4 separate regions of the Homo sapiens genome follow, and regions 1, 2 and 3 are each linked to region 4. The links are contacts of gene promoters, found by promoter capture Hi-C in human tissues and cell types (Jung and others, 2019). All regions are on one chromosome and are shown on one strand. The core of a region is centred on a gene start or on the middle of the fragment in contact, and the rest is flanking DNA. Distances in the headings are between cores, read along the strand shown. Region 1 overlaps MAP1A (microtubule associated protein 1A). Region 2 overlaps CCNDBP1 (cyclin D1 binding protein 1). Region 3 overlaps TP53BP1 (tumor protein p53 binding protein 1). Region 4 holds the start of LCMT2 (leucine carboxyl methyltransferase 2).

Region 1 (5,395 bases), core at 716-3,215, 200 kb before region 4:
TAGAGGAAAAGTAGAACCCTTTTGGCAACCTTCCCCTCTGTCCCACTCCTGAAGTCTGACCAGCCCACACCCAGCCCTAACCCACACTCTCTGCCAAGTTTCATGATATACTTACTTGGTCCTGCCTTGAGTCCATTGACTAGGCCTTTGGACATGGGGCTGTGTCCATCCTTTTCCTCTGCTGGGGTGACCTGGCTTGTGGTGCTGCGTGGTCGAGGTGGGGCCCGGGATGCTCGATCTGCAGGCCCTTTACCAGGGGTGGGTGAGCGTTTTCCCCGAAGATCCAGACGCCGTGCAGGGGACGCTGGCTTGGCCTTGCCTGGGGCCCTGCGCCCTACTCGCCCCTGAACCTTTTCCTTCTCCCGTAGCCTCTCTACTCTCCCAGACTCTGAGCTGAGCCCCTCGGGGTCAGCCATGCACACATCAGGGCGGGGAGGGGATGGGCGGGGGTCTGGCTGTGGGAGAGGAGGTGGGTCATGGCCAGGCCTGGGGTGGTGAGTACCACTGACACCCCCAGCTTTGTCCACAGGTAGGAAGTCTCCATCTTCATCTGAGTCGAGGGCTGCCTCAGCTGTGATGGACGGACACTCCTCAGTTTCTGGCGGGACATCAGAATCTGACTGTGAGGAGCCTGAGTCACTGGCTGATGTAGGGGGTGTCTCATCAGTCACAGGGCATGGGCCCCCAGTGGTCCCTGGCCCCCCTACCCGGCGCCGCCCCCCTCTTCCTACTAGCCGAACTTCCTCAGTTGAGAGGTCCCTATCATCTATGGATGGGGGCAGAGGTGGGTTCAGGAAGGATGGGGAGAGCTCCCCACGATGGGGCCGAGGCTCAGTGGCACATCCCTGGGGCCCAGCTTCGACCTCAGGAGAGGCACTGCTGGGTGGGCCCCCGGAGCCCCCTGCAGGACACACTGGCTGCTCAGGGGAGAGCAATGTGTCAGGCCGGGAGCTCCTCTCAGCTCCTTCAGGCCAGGCCCCACGTTCCCAGGCAGGGCAAGCCGCAGCCTCTTCATTTTCAGCCTTGGCTGGGGCAGGGCCTGGGGGGTTAGGGCTGGTTTCAGTTGGGCCATTGGCTGCACAATCCTCAGAGGGAACCTGGAAGGGGCTTGGCTTCTCCGTGGCTGCCTCTGAGCACTCCAGGTGGCACGGCAGGATGCCATCACCCATGTCTCCAGGCAGGCTTGGAGCTGGAGCTAGGGCCAAGTCCAGTGAAGCTGGGGGTGCTGGGCTCAGAGGAGTGAGGTCCCAGAGGCTGTGGGCAGCTGGTTCCATTCCTGGGTCCAGCTCTCCAGACTCCTGTTCTGCAGCCTCAAGGCTTGGAGAGAAGCGCTCCGCCACACTTGAAATCACAGGCGTGGTAGCCTCAGAGGAGGAGCCCTCAGACAGGGCTGGTGAGGCAGGTCGTGGCAGATTGGAGAGGAGAGGGGCCCCAGGAGAACTGGGTGATGGGAGCTGGGGCAGTGAGGAATCCAGGCTGGGGGCCTTGGTCACTTCCAGGTATTCATCATGCCGGGTTCTGGTGGGGGGTCCTGGAGCCAGAGCCAGAGCTCGATCCCCAGAGAAGGCAAGGGAGCCACAGGGTGCCGAGCGGGGTTCAGCTGGAGAGGGCAGCTGTGGGGGAGCTGGCTGCAATGAGGAGAAGCCAAAGGCTGAAGCAGGGAAGTCCAGACTGGGTCGGGCAGGCCCCAGGTGTGAGTCCAAGGGAGGGCTAACATGTGCCTCAGTTTCTGGCCATAATGTGGGGGACCCCATAGGAATGGGGTGAGGAGGACTTGGGGATTGGGCCTCTTTTTCTGGCTGTTCCCGAGCCCCCTTCTCCAGTTCTGAGTCACTAGTGCTGTCATCCCAGTGACTCCGGCCTGATTCCTTGGGGGATGGGGACCTCCTATCTGGGCTGCAGCTCAGGATGTTACCATTAAGAGGGGGGCTTGGGCCTTTGCTCAGGATAGGAGCACGGGGGGGAACTGCAGGTGGGGTGAGGCTGGGCTCCATACTTGGCCCTGGCTCTGGCCTTGGGGGTACAGTGGGTCCTGCCAGGGCTGCATAGCTGAAGGTTGGAGTGTCAGACTGGAGGCTCTTGGGTGAGATAGGAGATGAAAGCTCCTTCTCTGCAGATGTGTTTCGGCCGGCAGCTGCCTCCTTGGTTGAGAGGCATGGGGGCCAATCCCCAGCTGCTCCAAGTGGAGGCTCTCTAGTGGGGCATGCAGGGCCAAGCCCAGTAAGCATCATCTGCTCATAGATGTCTGCATACTGAAAGCTTCTCTCATCAGGATAGGGTGTGGGCTCTCTCTGCTCCGGCTCAGTCTGCTCAGGCTCCGTGGTGGCATGGCTTTTGCTGGCCTCTGGTACCTTTGAGCTGTGTGAGCTTTTGTCAGGAGCCTCAGCCCTACCTTCTTCTTCCCTTTCCCCTTCAGCCTTGCGGTAGTCCTTCCCCAGGGGGGAGTATGGCCCACCTTCCAACTCAGCTGCCCCCTCCTGCACTGCAGCCACCACACTGTCATACTCGGCTGTGCCCCAAGAGAAGGGTGCAGGAGTATGGGATTCCGGGGCAGGTGTGGGGGGACCAGGAGCTGGGGAGAGGGGTGCAGGGGGGAGGGGTCTGTCCTTGGGCACCCAGGGTGGGATGTCAGCCAGCCATGAGGGAGTAGTGGGTTCATTCTTCATGTGTGGCATGAGCTTAGGGTCTGGGATAGGACTCTCTTGTCCTGGGGCTGAAGGAACCCTTTGTCCAACCATCTCAGGTGGGGAAGCTGGAGGGGAGATGATCTCAAAGGGAGAGCGGGTCAGTTTGTCCTCTTCCTCTGGTGGCAACCCAACTGGTGATTCAGCAAGCCAGCGCTCCACCTCTAGCCCCTTCTGTGGTGAGGATTCCTGGAAATCCTTGAAGTCTGAGGCCCAGGGGCTCCGGGTTGCGTGTTCCCGCAGGGGTACTTCTTGCTCATCATCTGGGCCCTCATCTAGGAAAGTGCTTTCCCGTTCCTCAGTGTAGTGTGGGCGGGCCCCCTGGCCATCCAGCTCGTGAGGGAACCAGACCTTCCGCTCACAGCTTAGCTCCCTCCAGTATGTGTCCTGTTCCAAGGCCACATCCTCTCTGCCCCTCCAATACCTATTGTCCTGCTCAGGAGATGTGTCCTCCCATGCCGGGGCAAGCTCTTTCTGTTCTCCAGCCGGCTCCTCTCTGGTAGGAGATGTTTCTTGCCACTCCTGGACCACATCCTGCCCCCTCCAGTACTTTTCTTCCTGCTCTCTGGCCCTGCCCTCCTGCACTAGGCTCTCTTCCAGGCCCAGAGCTTTGGTCTTCTCCAGAAGAGCTTCTAACTTCTCTTCCATGGCCTTGACCTTTTCTGGGGATTTTTCCTCTAGCATCTTTGGTTTCCTGGTTTTATCCTCCTGCACTAGGCTCTCCTGCTCCTGAGTTTGGTGGTTCTCTTCCAGAGCCTGAATGTTTTGTTCCAGGGCTTCATCCTTCTGTCCCAAAGCCCAGTATTTTTGTTCTAAGGCCTGATCCTTCTTTTCTGAGACTTTATCCTTTTGTTCCTGGGCCTGGTGTTTCTGTTCAGGGGCTTTGTCTGTCTGTTCTAGGTCTCTGTCCTTCATTTCAGCGACCGTGTCCTCCGGAGCCTTATGTTCAACACTTCTGACTTTTTGATCTAAGGCTTTGTCTTTCTCTTCTGGGATCTTCTCCTTCTGTTCTAGGACCCTGTCCTTTTGTTCCAAGTCTTTATCTTTTGGTTCCAGGGCCTTGTCCTTCTGTTCCAGGGCTGTATCCTTTTGTTCTAAGGCTTTGTCTTTCTCTTCTGGAATCTTATCCTTCTGTTCCAGGGCCTTGTCTTTTTCTTCTAAGTCTTTGTCTTTTGGTTCCAGGGCCTTGTCCTTCTGTTCTAGGGCTGTGTCTTTTTGCTCTAAGTCTCTGCCCTTTTGTTCTAAAGCCTTATCCTGCTGTTTCACAGCCTCATTCTTTACATGCAGAGCCTCATCTTTCTGATAGATGGCTGTATCCTTCGGCTCTACCACCTCCTTGTGCTCCAGAGTTTTGTCTTTCTGCTGTAAAACTTCATCCTTTGGCTCAGGTTCCTTCTTCTGTTCTGAGGTTCTGTCTTTCAACCCTGGAACTTTATCTTCCCACTTTATGGCAATGTCCTCCAAGGCAGGGCCTGGCAAAGACTCAGGACTCTTGGAGAAGGAGCTATCAGGTGTCAGAATGTGTTCATCAGGGCTTGTGATCGCCCCAGGTAAGTACTTCCCATTTCCTGAAGGTGTAGAGTGAGAGAATGAGCTGGCAGGTGACTTCCTGTCAAGGCTGTCATCTGTGATGTCTGTCTGTGCAGAGTATCGAGTTGTCCCATCTGTGGGAGGTGACGCTGTGGCTGCATGGGGCTCTGGAACAGACATGGGAGCTGTGTGGTGAGAGGTATCCTCGGCCTGCATCAGATGCCCCATTTCTTCCTTCCCAAGGTTTAGTTCCCCAAACTGGAGGGTGCCAAGGCTTTCTGGAGAGAGCTGCTTAGAAGAGACATCCAGGGAGGTCTCCTTGCTGGGACTCTCTTCTGACAGAGAAAGTGACTGGGTGTCTTCTGGAGATACCTCTGGCCAACGGTCTTTGTGTAGGTACTGTTCTGTCAGGCCACAGGGAGACTTGGGGGTAGGCTCTTGGTTGGCAGTGTCTGGGGAGGGCACGCTGAGGACAGAGAGGGATTCTGCATCTTCAGGAGAGAGGCTTCGGTCAGGATATCTGAGCACCTCATCTTTCTGAGGTTTGCCAGGTTCTTGGGGTAAAGTCCTCAAACCTCCGGGAAGGGCTTCTGCTCCCAGAATTGGGCCTGTGGGCTCTCCTGCCTCCATAATCTCAAAGACTATTGCTTTATCCTGTGCTGGCAACAGTTGAATGGTACAGCCTGTAAGCCCCTCATCAATGTTGACAGGTGCTTCCTGGGCCTGGGGGCTCCTGGGAGGAGGAACTTTCTCTTCCTTCTCTAGTGTGCCCTCTTCAGGCCCTGGCTTGACTGTCTCCTCAGCAGCATCTTCTTTGCCCACACCTGGTGTGCGCTTAGTGTCTCCCCAGGAGTCTGCCTCCTGAAAGTCTTGGGGCTCAGACTTTTCTTCCACTGGGGACTGATGAAAGGGTGTGTGGGTGGCACTGGGTGGGCCAGATGGTGGAGGAGAAGCCATCTTCACTGTGCTGTCATCTGGGCTAAGGCACCGCTCCTCTGCTTCTCCAAGGGCTGGTTCTCCTGGATGTAGGGCATGCCCAGGGGCACTAAACACTGGAGTTCCATATTGACTGCAAAGTTTCTCAGACATCTCTACGTTTGCTGTCTCCTCCTCTTCCTCTTCCACAGCTCTCTCTCCAGACAAGCCTTTCCCTATGATCTCTCCTCTCTTCTCTGACTCCC
Region 2 (5,580 bases), core at 1,126-3,625, 130 kb after region 4:
CTGGGAAGAAAAAGAGGTTTAATGGGACTTATAGTTCCACATGACTGGGGAGGCCTCAGAATCATGGCGGGAGGTGAAAGGCATTTATAACATGGTGGTGGCAAGAGAAAATGAGGAAGAAGCGAAAGTGGAAACCCATGAGAAACCTATCAGATCTCATGGGACTTACTATCACAAGAATAGCATGGGAAAGACCAGCTCCCATAATTCAATTACTTCCCCCTGGGTCCCTCCCATGAGGAATGGGAGATAGAACTCAAGTTGAGATTTGGGTGGGGACACAGCAAAATCATATCATTCCATCCCTGGCCCCTCCCAATCTCATGTCCTCACATTTCAAAACCAATCATGCCTTCCCAACAGTTCCCCAAAGTCTTAACTCATTTCAGCATTAATCCAAAAGTCCACAATCCAAAGTCTCACCCGAGACAAGGCAAGTCCCTTCTGCCTATGAGCCTGTAAAATCAAAAGCAAGCTAGTTACTTCCTAGATACAGTGGGGGTACAGGTATTGGGTAAATACAGCCATTCCAAATGGAGAAATTGGCCAAAACAAAGGAGTTACAGGGCCCATGCAAGTCCAAAATCCAGCAGGGCAGTCAAATTTTAAAGCTCCAAAATGATCTCCTTTGACTCTAGGTCACAATAATGCAAGAGGTGGGTTCCCATGGTCTTGGGCAGTTCTCTCTGCCCCTGTGGCTTTGCAGGGTACAGCGTCCCTCCCAGTTGCTCTCACAGGCTGGCGCTGAGTGTCTGTGGCTTTTCCAGGCAGACAGTGCAAGTTGTCAGTGGATCTACCATTCTGGGGTGTGGAGGATGGCGGCCCTCTTCTCACAGCTCCACTAGGCAGTGCCCCAGCAGGGACTCTGTGTGGGGGCTCTGACCCCATATTTGCCTTCTGCACTGCCCTAGCAGAGGTTCTCCATGAGGGTCCTGCCCTTGCAGCAAACTTTTGCCTGGGCCCCCAGAATTTCCATAGATATTCTGAAATCTAGGCAGAGGTTCCCAAACCTCAGTTCTTGACTTCTGTGCACCCATAGGCTCAACACCATTTGGAAGCTGCCAAGGCTTGCGGCTTCCACCCTCTGAAGCCACAGCCCAAGCGGTATGTTGGCCCCTTTCAGCCATGGCTGGAGTGGCTGGGACACAGGGCACCAAGTCCTTAGGCTGCATACAACACAGGAACCCTGGGCCTGGCCCACTAAACCACTTTTTCCTCCTGAGCCTCCGGGCCTGTGATGGGAGGGGCTGCCATGAAGTTCTCTGACATGGCCTGGAGACATTTCCCCCTTGATCTTCAGGTTTAACATTAGGCTCCTTGTTACTTATGCAAATTTCTGCAGCCAGCTTGAATTTTTCCCTAGAAAATGGGTTTTTCTTTTCTATTGCATAGTCAGGCTGCAAATTTTCCAAACTTTTACGCTCTGCTTCCTTTATAAAACTGAATGCCTTTGACAGCACCCAAGTCACCTCTTGAATGCTTTGCTACTTAGAAATTTCTTCCACCAGATACCCTAAATCATCTTTCTCAAGTTCAAAGTTCCACAAATCTCTAGGGCAGGGTCAAAATGCCACCAGTCTCTTTGCTAAAACATAAGAGTCACCTTTGCTCCAGTTCCTAACAAGTTCCTCATCTCTATCTGAGACCACCTCAGCCTGGATTTTATTGTCCATATTGCTATCAGCATTTTCGGCAAAGCTATGCGACAAGTCTCTAGGAAGTTCCAAGCTTTCCCACATTTTCATCTTCTTCTGAGCACTTCAAGCTGCTCCAATCTCTGCCTGTTACCCAGTTCCAAAGTCACTTCCACATTTTCGGGTATCTTTTCAGCCATGCCCCACTCTACTCATACCAATTTACTGTATTGTTTGTTTTCACGCTGCTGATAAAGACATACCTGAGACTGGGAAGAAAAAGAGGTTTAATTGGACTTACAGTTCCACATGGCTGGGGAGGCCTCAGAATCATGGCAGGAGGCAAAGGCACTTCTAACAGGGTGGTGGCAAGAGAAAATGAGGAAGAAGCAAAAGCAGAAACCTCTGATAAGCCCATCAGGTCTCCTGAGACTTATTCACTATCACGAGAATAGCACAGGAAAGACCAGCCCCCATGATTCAATTACCTCCCCCTGGGTCCCTTCCACAACTCATGGGAATTCTGGGAGATAGAATTCAAGTTGAGATTTGGGTGGGGACACAGCCAAACCATATCACTCTTCCAAACAAACTCCAATACAATTACCAGGAATTGAACCAGAAGGAAGTCACAGATGACAAAAGGAACAACAGATGTAGCTTGGAAGCCCTTAGGATGTACCTCTTCTCAACCATGCAGTTGCTCAGCATTGGGTGGCTCCTGTCTTCTATTCCTTTATAAACACTTCCATTTTAATAGCAAGGTACTTAGATGTTTATTTCTGCATGGTCCACCTCTTCAAGCAAGGAAGGATCAAAGTCACTGGGACCAGCAGAGCAATGAACCTGGGACAGAACTAGCACCTGCCTTTTCCTTTATTTCAGATTCCGTTCAGTGTGGCCTGAAAACACCATGTGTGCCAAGTTCCAGTTCACGCCAACACATGTGGGGCTCCAGAGACTCACTGTGGAAGTGGACTGCAACATGTTCCAGAACCTAACCAACTATAAAAGCGTCACCGTGGTAGCCCCTGAACTATCAGCTTAAACTTCCAGCTCTATCACCACTCTCCTGCCAACCCTTGTTCTACAATCTAAACCAAACATGTGCTAGGAAGAGAAACTTTGCGTCTCAGTGTTTGTGTTGCTATAAAGGAATAACTGAGGCTGGGTAGTTTAAAAGAAAAGAGCTTTATTTGGCTCACGGCTCTGCAGGCTGTACAAGAAACAGTGAGGGCTTCAGGCTGCTTCCACTTATGCAGGAAGATGAAGGGAGGCAACGTGAGCAGAGATCACAGGGCAAGAATGGGTTGAGGGGTAGGGGTAAGTGCCAGGTGCCAGCCTCGTTTTAACAGCCAGCTCTGGGGTGGGGGAGGGACATATAGAGCGAGAACTTACTCATTACCCCACCAATGGAACGAAGCCATTCATGAGGGATCCAAACACCTCCCATTAGGCCCCACCTCCAACACTGGGAATCCAATTTCAGCATGAGGTTTGCAGGGTTGAATATCCAAACTACATCACTTTATCAGATAAATGAGTAGTCATTCAGGTTGAAAAGGTGCTCAGATACCTTTAAGGAGTACATTCAGATTGTTCAGGTTCAGGTTTTTTGCAACCATTTTACTGCTCATTAATACATTCATTAACTTACAGATAAGGGAAAGGACCTAACACTTAAATCATTCTAATATTTCTGATGAAGTGGGATATTATCCCAAAATGGAATTTTTAGGTAATCTTAAAATTACATTGATCAAGCTGGGCTCGGTGGCTCACATCTGTAATCCCAGCACTTTGGGAGGCTGACGTGGGCAGATCACCTGAGGTCAGGAGTTTGAGACCAGCCTGGCCAACATGGTGAAACCCCATCTCTACTAAAAATACAAAAATTAGCTGGACATGGTGGTGTGCATCTGTAGTCCCAGCTACTTGAGAGGCTGAAGCCAGAGAATTGCTTGAGAACCTGGGAGGCGGAGGTTGCAGTGAGCCGAGAGTGTGCCACTGCACTCCAGCTTGGGGGACAGAGCAAGACTCCATCTCAAAAAAAAAAAAAAAAAAAAAAAAATTACATTGATCAGTGCTTTCCCTGATCATTATCCTTAAAGATCCAAACATGACTGAACGAAGTTATACAATACAGGACCTGAGAGAATAATTCAGCTAGAGGTAAGTCTTTATATTAGAGTTCTATATTCATTAAGTATCCCACAATTAAAGTCTGATGTTAATAACATGAATTTGGTCCAGTAGAGAAATATAAAAGTATATAAAAAATAGGCTCTATATGAAAGGATAAAAGAACTAGACTGTTGTACAATGTTATTATTTTGTTTATGTTATTTTGTTGCCTTGACACTCTGTCAGTTTGATTTTAGTTCCTTCCCTTCATGACACTTGTTAACAATACAAAATGGCACTTCAAAACAGTAAGCTAAAACTCATTTGGCTTAAGGAATTTCAACCCCAACCCCAAGTATACATTAGTCACTCAAAGAATGACTGCTGTTGCTGATTATACCTAAAGACAGCAGAAAGGCATATGTTATGAATTACACCTACAAAAGGAAGATGATGGGCATGAGAGGTGGCGGAGACCTGTAGGACATGCATAATGCCCTATTCAGCTCACCAGAATATACATCATTATAGATTTACACTGCTTTCCAATATGCAGTCTTCTAGACTGATGCAAAAGTATAATTAAGTGGTGATGGTTTTGCAAAAGGATGAACTGAAAAGGCCCTTAAAATTACATAAAATCTCTTACACACTAAAAAATTTTTGATTTATAAAAATTTGGTATTTACATTTGGGGACACACGTAACCAAGGACAACACAAGTATGTATAAGGAAAATAAATCTGTTCAATAAGGTGGGCAAACCTAACAAATGAGCTCAATGCCAATATATTTTAGAGACATGGAGTAATCTGTGATAATATTCAGAAGGACTTGCTGATAATAATATATAACATGGTGAAATACTAAGATGAATTTTGGAGTCATCTTTTATAAATAAAGTGTTTTGTTCTAAATATACTTCTGATTAGAATCAGATTTTTAAACCTACAAACCCAAATGAAAGCAATGTTCTAGTCTCAATCCACTGTATTTCTGGTAAAAAGAAACTTTGGAAGGGCACTCATTTAATCACTGGCAAGTTAGCATTTTATTGAGACCATCAACATCTTTACAATGAAAACAACATACTTTACTGCAAAAAGAGAATAAGGCAGCTTTCCTAGGAATCTCTGAGAAATGACTCAGGAATGAGAAATCATGCAATTATTTTTCATATATAGCACAGAAAAATATACGCATATGGTTTATAAATAGGTGTCAATCTGGCCTAACCAACAATCTTTGGTAATAGTGTCTCTTGCTAAATATAGATAGGCACTCCCTTTCAATCCAGCAAGCATTCTAGCTCCATTTTAAAAGCAGGTATCAGAGCCTGACCATGACGATGAGAGGGGAAGAGAGTACAAATGAGCCTGAAAAGTCATAATTCAAGTTCACTCTGAGTGAGCTCCTTGATTCTATTCATGCAATGATCAATGGCATTAATAAGTAAAGGGATCCAACTATCTTCTGGCTGAGGGGTCACATGACTTGCTCTGTGAATAGAATAGGAAAGAAGTAAGTTAAACTTATTAGGATGTCAAGGGAAAACCTATCCTCAGGAGGGAGCACAGGGAAAACTAAAATTTTTTTAAAGGGAAGCTTCTTTGCAGAATCTCAGCTGCCCCACAACTGAAGCTGAAAGAAAATCCCACACCCACCCTTTCCCACTCCTTGAAATGGGAGCTAGGGAGTTGAGAACGTCTGGACAGCAGTTCCGTTTTACTCACAAAAAGCTATCTGAGAAGTCTTCATACTTACTTTGTAATTTCAAGTGCCTTCTTTAAAACAGATACAAGTTTCGCAGACTAGAAAAGAA
Region 3 (6,095 bases), core at 643-3,142, 150 kb before region 4:
AGGCTGGAGTGCAGTGGCGCGATCTCGGCTCACTGCAAGCTCTGCCTCCCGGGTTCACGCCATTCTACTGCCTCAGCCTCCTGAGTAGCTGGGACTACAGGCACCTGCCACCACGCCCAGCTAATTTTTTTGTATTTTTTAGTAGAGATGGGGTTTCACCATGTTAGCCAGGATGGTCTCGATCTCCTGATCTCGTGATGCGCCCTCCTTGGCCTCCCAAAGTGCTGGGATTACAGGCGTGAGCCACCGTGCCTGGTCGGTGTTAACTTATTTTAAAAATATATGGAGTTTGCTTGTGCCCAGTAGTTCAAGGCTGCAGTAAGCTGTGATCGTGCTACTGCACTTTAGCCTGGGAGACAGACTCTGTCTCTCTCTTTTTTTTTTTTTTTTGAGACAGAGTCTCGCTCTGTCACCAGGCTGCAGTGCAGTGGCGCGATCTCGGCTCACTGCAACCTCCGCCTCCTGGGTTCGAGCAATTTTCCTGCCTCAGCCTCCTGAGTAGATGGGACTACAGGCGCATGCCACCACACCCAGCTAATTTTTATATTTTTAGTAGAGACGGGGTTTCACCATGTTAGCCAGGATGGTCTCGATCTCTTGACCTCGTGACCTGCCTGCCTCTGCCTCCCAAAGTGCTGGGATTACAGGTGTGAGCCACTGTGCCCGGCCCAGACTCTGTCTCTTAAAAAAAAAATAAGTAAAAAATAAAAAGTGTGTGTGTGTGTGTGTGTGTGTGTGTGTGTATTTATATACATATATAAGCTCCTTACCTGAATTTTGTTTGGACTCTGTGGTTCTATATATGTATTTTAAGATTTTTTACTAAAATACTTCTGTGAACTTTTAAAAAGTTTTTTGAGCCCTTTCTGTGCTCATCCAATGCATATCTTCTCTTGTCACTTGTCAGTAATTCTCCTGAATGCAAGATTTTTCTGCCTCTTCTCAAAAATATAAAATTCGAGTATGTTGGTGCCTTATTTTTTCTTTACTTAATTCTGTGTAGGATGTTGAATTGTTAATCTTTTAGGTGCTTTTTGTAGAAAGAAGCACTATAAAGGTGAGGTATTTTACTTTTTCAAGTTTGGCTAAGAGATGGTTGGTATGTGTTGGGGGTCAGAGTGCTCTGATTAAAGTGTCCCAAACTATCTGGGAACACATGATTATATCCTTCTGCTGTGTAGTGTTCTGGGAATGTCAGTGGAATCTGCTCCTGCTGTGGAGGAAGAGAAGGGAGAAGAGTTGGAACAGAAGGAGAAAGAGAAGGAAGAAGATACTTCAGGCAATACTACACATTCCCTTGGTGCTGAAGGTAGCCTTGTGCTTTTTTCAGAATAATAGACTGTTCTAACTTCCCTTTAACATGATTGTGCAGATGTCTAAATTTCTCCTCTTTATTAGGTTGCAGATTTCTCATAATTAAATTGAGAGTCATTAAGAAATTTGCTAGTAATTTAAAATGTTCCACCTGATTTGGTATTCAGGAATTTGTAGTTCATTGGTTAGCCCCTTTCTGCATATTGAGTTTTCTTCCTCTTGTATTCATTTGTTTTTCAAATATTTTTGTAATGTGTACTTTGTGGGGTGTAAGTACAGTCTGAATTGCTGTGACTGTGGGTGTAGTTTATGATGTACCTTTAGAAAGCAGACGTAGTCTCCTTATAAGATTTTATAGTATGAAGTATTTTTACTTTATTACACATTTTCCCCCTTCATCTTTAATGCACTTATTTTTTTTAAATTTATTTTTTATTTTTTTGCGACGGAGTCTTGCTCTGTTGCCCAGGTTAGAGTGCAGTGGCGCAATCTTGGCTCACTGCAAGCTCCGCCTCCTGGGTTCAAGCCATTCTTGTGCTTCAGCCTCCCGAGTAGCCAGGATTACATGTGTGCGCCACCACACCTGGCTAATTTTTGTATTTTTAGTAGAGATGGGGTTTCACCATGTTGGCCAGGCTGGTCTTGACCGCCTGACCTCAAGTGATTCACCTACCTTGGCCTCCCAAATGCCGGGATTATAGGTGTGAGCCACCGTGCTCGGCCACATTTATTTTTTATTTTTGAAAAATTTGGGGGGTGCACAGGGCTTTGATGTGAAGGACTTAACGGGACCCTCCTTTGCTGAGGACAGCAGCTTGTACATTGCATAATGTTGTGGGATGATACCTAATTTCTTGGCATTTTGTTCCTAGATACTGCCTCATCACAGTTGGGTTTTGGGGTTCTGGAACTCTCCCAGAGCCAGGATGTTGAGGAAAATACTGTGCCATATGAAGTGGACAAAGAGCAGCTACAATCAGTAACCACCAACTCTGGTTATACCAGGCTGTCTGATGTGGATGCTAATACTGGTATGAAACATGTTTTCTGGCATTTGGAGTTGTTGTGTTTTCTCCCATATTAGAGGTAGTTATTTTTTCTTTGATAAGTTTTGCAGCTATCCAAATTAATATAATCTAAGTAATTTAGTAAGGTTGAAGAGTTTTCTGGTAAATACTTGTCAATTGTTGGTTTGTGGGCTGAGGTTTTAAGTTATTGGTTACTTTCCTTTATAGACTGATGCCTGTATATATTTTAAATTGGACTTCTGTTAAAATCTTTGCTTTTTAAAAAACATCTGGGACTGTATCTAGTATTTTGAAAACTTAATTATCTCCTTCCTGTCATTTTATAAAACTCTCAGCAATTAAGCATGAAGAACAGTCCAACGAAGATATCCCCATAGCAGAACAGTCCAGCAAGGACATCCCTGTGACAGCACAGCCCAGTAAGGATGTACATGTTGTAAAAGAGCAAAATCCACCACCTGCAAGGTAAGCCGAACTTTCTAAAAAGGATTTACGAGTTTTGCTGTAGGGTTATACTAATGTCATTTTACCAGATGAAAACATTTTTAGAAATTGTTGATTTTTAAATTATTTTCCCCTTGTACTGGGCATACTTGTGGTCCATTGGAAACGTTGATTATTTATGAAGTCTCAAGAATTGTTTTTTGTCTGTCTGTCTGTCTGTCTGTTTGAAACAAAGTCTCACTATGTTGCCCTGGGCTCATGTGATTCTCTGCCCCAGCCTCCCAAGTACTGGGGCCACACTTGACTACTAATCTTATCTTTAGGCATTCTACAAAGACCTTTTTTTGTTGATTAAAAAAATTTTTTTGTTGTAGAAATGGAGTCTCGCTATGTTGCTCAAGCTGGTCTCGAACTCCTGGGCTCAAGTAATCCTCCTGCCTCAGCTTCCCAAAGTGCTGGGATTATAGGCGTGAGCCACTCTGCCTAGCCTGCAATGATGTTTTAAGGCTGCTCTAACTATAAGCATGACTCCGTAATCTTTGGTTGCCACTCCTCCTTTGTGATCTTTGTCTACAGAGACACTGCTTGTCTGTGGGAGGTCTTCTTAGCCTCTCTGGTGTTATGAAGAGTAACATGACTATTTTATTTGAAAGCCTACTGTTTCTATACTTGAGGAGCACCCAGATTGCTTTGGGTTCTTAGGTATCCTGCATCTGGTATTTTATGGTATCGATAGATGTAGGGATTTTCTCAGGTTCTTTAGGCTCTTAACTTGGTAGGAATTGGGGAATGTGCCTCTGCTTCATCTCTCGTGATTTTTATAACCAAAGCTTCATTACCTCTGGCCAGTAAGTGAAGTTTGAATATGGCAGAAGAAAACTGGGATGCTTCCAGTTTGGGATAGGGGATAAATAAACAGTATTGTTTTGTTATTTCCTTCAATGGAAAGAGTGGGGAGAGAGTGTCCTAAGCAAAGTTGAATATCAAGAGAAATTGTCTTTCTAATGTAAAACACTCAGCATAACAGTGACTTTTTAGGCTTTTCTTTTAGATGCTGCCTTCCATCTAGTTATGCTATTCTGTTTACCCTGGGGAGTGGTAGAACAGGTGAACCTCATAAGTCTCTGGAAAGGGGCCAGGGATGAATGTCTTATACATGTTAGTATTGATCTGAAGGAGAATTGGTTTGGGGTTTGGGTACATCAAATGGAAAAGGTCAGCAGAAGATGTGTGTGGCACTAGTAAGGAGGATAATTGACATCAAATGCTTTCCATGGAATGTCATGGTTTGGACTGTTCTCCTTACTGGCATCATTGGGGTCTGGATCAGAATTCTTTATACAGGTCTAGATAACATTATATGTAACAAAAATTCCCCAAGTTACTCATCAGAAATCTTAGAAAGCATGAAGCACAGTATTGAGCAGAGTTGAAGACAGGTATTGGCTGTGAGAGAGAGTGAGACAGGTTTTAAAATGGGCTGAGGACTTTTATCACTATAAAGAGTAGTTTATTTCCTTTTTAATATATAATTATGTAAATTAGAGCCACTGGAATTTTTGAAATTATTAAAGAAAAACACACAAAACAGGAAAAGCTTTTTATTTAAAAACATTTGAACTTAGGAACTTTTTCTCCTGGTGATATGAATTTCCTAGGTCAGAGGACATGCCTTTTAGCCCCAAAGCATCTGTTGCTGCTATGGAAGCAAAAGAACAGTTGTCTGCACAAGAACTTATGGAAAGTGGACTGCAGATTCAGAAGTCACCAGAGCCTGAGGTTTTGTCAACTCAGGAAGACTTGTTTGACCAGAGCAATAAAACAGGTACCAAGAGTGATTTGTCGTTACAGCTCTTCTCCAAAGATCTAAACTTTTACTTTAGTTCTGAGGCTACTGGTTAAGTTACAAAGCATTTTATAGGTTTGCAGACTTGTTTGTGATATGGAAGGAAAACGTGTTTCTAGTAATTAGTGAGAAGGGCTTTTTGGGAATAATTTCCATTTAATATTTTGACATAATTTTCTCTCTTTTGGAAATGAGATGGTGAAGAATAGCTAATACAGTAAATTTAGTATTATGGATACTAGCCATTTTCTTTTTTTCTTTTTTTTTTTTTTGAGATGGAGTCTCACTCTGTCACCCAGGCTGGAGTGCAGTGGCGCAATCTCGGCTCACTGCAAGCTCCGCCTCCCGGGATCATGCCATTCTCCTGCCTCAGCCTCCCTAGTAGCTGGGACTACAGGCACCCGCCACCATGCTTGGCTAATTTTTTGTATTTTTAGTAGAGATGGGGTTTCACTGTGTTAGCCATGATGGTCTTGATCTCCTGACCTTGTGATCCGCCTGCCTTGGCCTCCCACAGTGCTGGGCTTACAGGCATGAGTCACCACACCTGGCTGCCATTTTCTGTTACATGGCTACTATGTCTTCAAATCTTCAATATGATATTAAGCCTAGGTTTTTCATATTCATCTGGGTAACAGTTTACTAACTTAATCTGTTTATTAGTTAATCTGACACAGATAGGAATTTAAAATCTAGCGGAAAGGACATAAAACTTAAAAGGATATAATTTGTTTCACACCTCTTTAACCTCCACCAATCTTTCATTCCACAGCCTCAGAGAGCTAGAAAGCTTGAGTTAATTACCAGCAAAACATATTATGTTGGTTGTAAGGCGGGAAGGGAAGAAGGCTATCTTCCTTTGCTATGCTGTGATACAGGTTGCTGTGCAAGACATTCAGAGGGTCACCGAGGAACCTTTGTTGGTCTCTTACTAAAGTTGTAAGGTTTTATTTAAGAAATTCTTTTACACTGGGATTAATATAGTTGATACTCCATCTATTGCTAAGGGGAAGGGACCAACAAGAGACTCTTCATAGTATAAAACAGTAATGGCTGCTCATAAATCCTTTTACTCCTTTGAGCAGGCCCAAATCTTGAAAACTGCTGCATTTATAACATCAAGTGTCATGTGCATTTTTTTGACTTCTCCCATCTGTATCATGGCATGAGCTTGACTTCACCTAAGGTAGACGTTGGAATAAAAGGCTCATTTGCTGTTTTTTAATAGAAGCATCACAAGAAAGAAGAGCAGCTAAGCAGAAGTATAAGGATTCTGGCTTTTATTTTATTTATTTATTTATTTTTTTGAGACGGAGTCTCCCTCTGTTGCCCAGGCTGGAGTGCAGTGGTGCAATCTCAGCTCACTGCAACCTCTGCCTAGCAGGTTCAAGTGATGCTCCTGCCTTAGCCTTCCAAGTAGCTGGGATTACAGGCGCATACCACCACGCCCAGCTAATTTTTGT
Region 4 (5,528 bases), core at 1,461-3,960:
CACAATGCCCATCTAATTTTATATAAAATTTTTTTTGTAGAGACGGGGTCTCACCATGTTGCCCAGGCTGGTCTCAAACTCCTGGGCTCAAGTGATCCACCAGCCTGAGCTGGGATTACAGGAGCGAGCCACTGCGCCCGGCCAGATTTTCAATTTTACTCCAGGATCCTGACCTTAATTTGTGCCCCATTCAAACCATCCTCCAGACTGACCTTTAACTAGCTGTGAGTAAATTTACTGACCCACTGGCTACAATGTTAACCTATGGAAATTAAAAAGCAACTAAGCAATCATAATCTTTACACATTAAAAAAAATTGTTGTTCCTTGCCTAAAACATGGATACCAACAACAGCATGCCATGACAAATTTAACTTTTCTGGACTGGTTTTGCTCTGGGACGGAAGGCAACAAACACTGGGATAAGATCCACGTTAGTAATACTTCATCAATATTAGAGCAGGGCCAGAAGCAAGTATCCTGTCTCCCAGGGAACTTTTTTCATGCTCCCACCTACTCCCCCAAAAGGGAACTCAGAATAAAAAAAAATTTGTTACTGTTTATTATGCACTTACCATGAGCCAGGCACTGTGGTGTCTTAGATAGTTATTTTGTTTAAATCCTCACAACAACCCCTGAGATATTATTATCCCCATTTTATATAAGAATAAACTGAGATTTAAACAATGGCCCCTCCTCCCCCGGCCTAAATCATAAGGCATCGAAATCAGAAATTTTACTCCATTCTCTTTCTTCTTTAATTACTTTTCTTGATCTGGTCTTTGCAAAACAAGTAGTATTTTTGACATAACACCTACATTTTAGGAACCTGTCATTAAATAAATTTGTTTCTATGGTGCTACGTATTTTTCAAAGTCCTTCAACTTTTTTTTTTTTTCTATTTGCCCCTCAATCAACCCTGAGATACCTCACGAAGCAGTACTTAATCTCATTTTAGAGGTGAGGATCCACTGACCCAGCAGGCATAGGTGAGCCCTTCTTCTAATCCCTTCAGAAGCAATTCTCAAACTGCTCAAATGTTCCATCAGATCTGAATGCCTTACACTAAACTGACAACTCTGTCACCAACTTTACAGAGAAAACAGAAGCCATCAGGTGCAAATTCCTTCTTTTTCTCTCTGCCCTACCTCACACCTGAGCTTATGATTATCCATAATCTTTTTTTTACCCCATCAGGAGTCACAGATAAAGGATTCATTCTCCTATCCCCACAACTAATACGTGCCCAGGATCCCATTTCTATCTATTCCAAGTTACTCTACCAGTGAGTTGTCTTCTCATTTTTCTGTTCCTTCAACCTCTCCCTCTCCACTAGCTGGTTTCCCTCACAGGACCAACACGCATGTGCAGTATTTGCTTCCACCTGAAAACAAAACAAAAGACTCTTTTATCCCACAATATTCTTTAGCCACTGCCCTGACCCTTTTTTCCTTCTGAGTTAAGCTCCTCGAAAGTATAATAATTTAGACTGGATACCTCCTTTAACTCACCTCCTATTCACTGAAACATGGATTCTGCCCTTATTGCTCCACAGAAACTGCTCTCCCTAAGGCCATTAATGAGCTTTTAAACACCAAATCTAAATGTCACTTTTCAATTACCGAATCTTTATCCTGATCCAAACCTTTTCTTTCTTATTTCATTTTGTTCCACAAGAAAACATTGGAAAATACGAAACTTTTTCTTGACTCCAGTATCCAAATCTGCTGGACTCCAAAACTCACACTCTTAACCATTATGCAGTACCACCTGTAGTTAACCATAAAGTTATCTGATTTCCTTTTCTATTTCAGCCAGTCAGTCACCAAATCCCAGTGAACAAATGATAAATTTCCTAAATGTCTCTGGAAGTGGTTTCCTATGGATGACTCCCAGACACCCAATTTAGAAACTTTATGATTATTCTGAAGTCTAACCTGGATTTACTCCTTAAAAACAAAGCTCAGAACATATCACAGGGAACAATCACCTCTCTTCAGTGACTCCCCTTTCTGGGGACATATTCAACACTACTTTAAAATCCACAGAATTCTCCAAGGCGGTGTGATGAGAAAGAGAGGCTGAGTGGTTTATTCACCGTCAGTCTAACATAGGGCTGGGAATACAAGGGAATCAACAGTCTACTATCTGTGGGGAAACGTCTTCTTGTTAGGTGTCTATAAATTATTTGTAAAGGTCGGTTTCTTCAGTTTGCACCCTGGCCTTAGTGACTTGTTTTCAAGTTTTAAATGGGGTTCTCTTTTGCAACTGTGAGAGCATTAAATAAATCAGCAACTATTAGCACCCAAGGAAGCTAACTAATCCTTGCCTACTGAAGGTCCGTGGTGCCGACCCTTCTTGGCTCCTACCAGACCCTTCCTTGGCGGTCCAAGGAAGCCAAGTCGTCAGTCCCCACAGACTCACCTCTTAGAGATTTCTCAACTACAAGGACTTAGGCAAGGTTTCCCTTTTGACTGGAAGGCTTGTAGAAACGTGACAACCCGCCTTCCCTAACACTCATGTCACAGCGGTAGCGGACCGTATTCTGGGACAAATGGAACTCACGACATTCCAAAGAAAGGTCAGCCGCAAGCGAACTTAGCACTGGCTACACCCTCCTCAATTCTGGTTGGCGAGATGCGCTCTTCCCGGAAGTGACGCACAAGTGCCGGCGGAAGGGGAAGTCCAGGAGCATGGGTGGTTTTTTTCCCCCTACCGAGGTCCGTGAGGTGTGTGCTAACCAAGGGGCGGCTCACAACCGTGACAGACTGCCATTCCTGAGTCTCTTCTGGCCATGGGCCCCCGGAGCCGTGAGCGTCGGGCAGGCGCGGTACAGAACACCAACGACAGCAGCGCCCTCAGCAAGCGTTCCCTGGCCGCGCGCGGGTACGTGCAGGACCCCTTTGCCGCGTTGCTGGTTCCGGGCGCGGCGCGCCGCGCACCGCTCATTCACCGAGGCTACTACGTCCGCGCACGCGCCGTGAGGCACTGCGTGCGCGCTTTTTTGGAGCAGATTGGCGCGCCCCAGGCCGCGCTTCGCGCGCAGATCTTGTCTCTCGGCGCTGGCTTCGACTCGCTCTATTTTCGCTTAAAAACCGCGGGCCGCCTGGCCCGGGCTGCAGTCTGGGAGGTGGATTTTCCGGACGTGGCGCGGCGCAAAGCAGAAAGGATTGGAGAGACGCCAGAGCTGTGCGCGTTAACCGGGCCTTTCGAGAGGGGGGAGCCCGCGTCCGCGCTGTGCTTTGAGAGCGCAGACTACTGCATCCTGGGTCTGGACTTGCGGCAGCTCCAGCGAGTGGAGGAGGCCCTGGGCGCCGCGGGGCTCGACGCAGCCTCACCCACTCTGCTCCTGGCCGAGGCGGTGCTGACCTACCTCGAGCCGGAGAGTGCCGCGGCCCTCATCGCCTGGGCAGCCCAGCGTTTTCCTAATGCCCTTTTCGTGGTCTATGAGCAGATGAGGCCTCAAGACGCCTTTGGCCAGTTCATGCTGCAACATTTTCGGCAGCTAAACTCCCCCCTGCATGGCCTGGAGCGTTTTCCTGACGTGGAGGCGCAGCGGCGCCGCTTCCTTCAAGCTGGCTGGACCGCCTGCGGTGCCGTGGACATGAATGAATTCTATCACTGCTTTCTTCCCGCAGAAGAACGCCGGCGGGTGGAAAATATTGAACCCTTTGACGAATTTGAGGAGTGGCATCTGAAGTGCGCCCATTATTTCATTCTGGCAGCTTCTAGGGGAGACACCCTCTCCCACACCCTAGTGTTTCCATCCTCAGAGGCATTTCCTCGCGTAAATCCTGCTTCGCCTTCAGGGGTATTCCCTGCCAGCGTAGTCAGTAGCGAGGGCCAGGTCCCAAACCTGAAGAGATATGGCCACGCCTCTGTCTTCTTGAGCCCAGACGTTATTCTCAGTGCAGGAGGATTTGGAGAGCAGGAGGGGCGGCACTGCCGAGTGAGCCAGTTTCACTTGCTCTCAAGAGATTGTGACTCTGAATGGAAAGGCAGCCAAATAGGCAGTTGTGGGACTGGAGTTCAGTGGGATGGACGCCTTTATCACACCATGACAAGACTCTCAGAGAGTCGGGTTCTGGTTCTGGGAGGGAGACTGTCCCCAGTAAGTCCAGCCTTGGGGGTTCTCCAGCTTCATTTTTTTAAGAGTGAGGATAATAACACTGAGGACCTGAAAGTGACAATAACAAAGGCTGGCCGAAAGGATGATTCCACTTTGTGTTGTTGGCGGCATTCAACAACAGAAGTGTCCTGTCAGAATCAGGAATATTTGTTTGTGTATGGGGGTCGAAGCGTGGTGGAACCTGTACTAAGTGACTGGCATTTCCTCCATGTAGGGACAATGGCTTGGGTCAGGATCCCAGTGGAGGGAGAAGTACCTGAAGCCCGGCATTCTCACAGTGCCTGCACTTGGCAAGGGGGAGCCCTTATTGCTGGAGGTCTCGGGGCTTCTGAGGAGCCATTGAACTCTGTGCTCTTTCTGAGACCAATCTCTTGTGGATTCCTCTGGGAGTCAGTAGACATCCAGCCTCCCATTACCCCAAGGTACTCCCACACAGCTCATGTGCTCAATGGAAAGCTGTTACTGGTTGGAGGGATCTGGATTCATTCCTCCTCATTTCCTGGAGTGACTGTGATCAATTTGACTACAGGATTGAGCTCTGAGTATCAGATTGACACAACATATGTGCCATGGCCATTAATGTTACACAACCATACTAGTATCCTTCTTCCTGAAGAGCAACAGCTCCTGCTCCTTGGAGGTGGTGGGAACTGCTTTTCCTTTGGTACCTACTTCAACCCCCATACAGTCACATTAGACCTTTCTTCCTTAAGTGCTGGGCAGTAAGGACTGGACTAATATTCAGGACCCACTAAAGTAGACAATAAAGTTTTCCACAAATAGGATGACCCTCTAGCTATAGATACTGCCACTCCTCCTTTCCCCATCCTTTTTTTCCCTTAGCACTATTCAGTGCAAAAAGTGAAAAAGGTTGGTAAAATAGGTAAAATACCTAGAAACAATCACTACAGAAAACAGCTGAAGACAGTGGCCATGCAGTCCGAGAGGAGTAGTGGTCTGCCTCTAATTTTCTAATCTAAGTTCGTTTATTGAGTTACAGTGGTCTTTAGTAAAGTAAAACAATTTCCCAATCCCAGGCCTTGTGATTTGAGATGGTACCTTAGAAAAAGTTACACGCAGTTCCGTGGTTGAATATATTTGAGATGGTACCTTAGAAAAAGTTTCACGCAGATCCTTGGTTGAATATAGTTGAGGGAGCGTAGTATTGACAATTCTTCATGTAGGAAACCTGAAATGAACACAGTCACAGTTTGATTAAAACATTGTCCTGTTTGTTGCAACAGAAAACTCGGATAGTTTTAACAACAGGAAACACTTGTAGGACTTCCTTTACCAACATACTTTTTAAATGTTTTGCTATTGGTTCCATATTTATTTAGATTTATAAGTGTCAATAAAGCAAACTTTTGATGCCTCAATTCATTTTGCACGGGGTATAA

The links. The method cuts DNA at HindIII sites, captures the fragments that hold promoters and counts their contacts. A contact is called where the count stands out against the background at its distance.
Region 1: a fragment that was not itself captured here is called in contact with the fragment with the promoter of LCMT2 in region 4 in 1 of the 25 tissues and cell types used here (mesenchymal stem cells).
Region 2: a fragment that was not itself captured here is called in contact with the fragment with the promoter of LCMT2 in region 4 in 1 of the 25 tissues and cell types used here (lymphoblastoid cells).
Region 3: a contact is called between a fragment that was not itself captured here and the fragment with the promoter of LCMT2 in region 4, in 1 of the 25 tissues and cell types used here (spleen).

What each region holds. Positions count from the first base shown.
Region 1 is chr15:43,524,229-43,529,623 of GRCh38, reverse strand. It overlaps MAP1A (microtubule associated protein 1A), which reads right to left. Exons shown (of 6, transcript NM_002373.6): 4 at 116-5,395. Among named protein-coding and RNA genes, the nearest start is that of MAP1A, 9.3 kb to the right of the region's middle. RefSeq lists enhancers at 1-296, 1,278-1,910. The HindIII fragment of the contact is 5,634 bases long and covers 1-4,782 here.
Region 2 is chr15:43,194,404-43,199,983 of GRCh38, reverse strand. It overlaps CCNDBP1 (cyclin D1 binding protein 1), which reads right to left. Exons shown (of 11, transcript NM_012142.5): 10 at 5,523-5,569; 11 at 2,807-5,257. The coding sequence ends at 5,143. It overlaps EPB42 (erythrocyte membrane protein band 4.2), which reads left to right. Exons shown (of 13, transcript NM_001114134.2): 13 at 2,520-2,757. The coding sequence ends at 2,682. Among named protein-coding and RNA genes, the nearest start is that of CCNDBP1, 12 kb to the right of the region's middle. The HindIII fragment of the contact is 7,230 bases long and covers 1-5,580 here.
Region 3 is chr15:43,476,109-43,482,203 of GRCh38, reverse strand. TP53BP1 (tumor protein p53 binding protein 1) reads left to right here. Exons shown (of 28, transcript NM_001141980.3): 5 at 1,182-1,309; 6 at 2,187-2,345; 7 at 2,678-2,807; 8 at 4,445-4,611. Among named protein-coding and RNA genes, the nearest start is that of TP53BP1, 14 kb to the left of the region's middle. RefSeq lists a silencer at 4,759-5,000. The HindIII fragment of the contact is 7,884 bases long and covers 1-5,834 here.
Region 4 is chr15:43,327,755-43,333,282 of GRCh38, reverse strand. It overlaps LCMT2 (leucine carboxyl methyltransferase 2), which reads left to right and starts at 2,710. Exons shown (of 1, transcript NM_014793.5): 1 at 2,710-5,528. The coding sequence starts at 2,794. The coding sequence ends at 4,854. It overlaps MAPDA (N6-Methyl-AMP deaminase), which reads right to left and starts at 2,611. Exons shown (of 13, transcript NM_001324366.2): 1 at 2,424-2,611; 2 at 1,283-1,383. RefSeq lists enhancers at 2,570-2,619, 1,852-2,802. The HindIII fragment of the contact is 18,030 bases long and covers 1-5,528 here.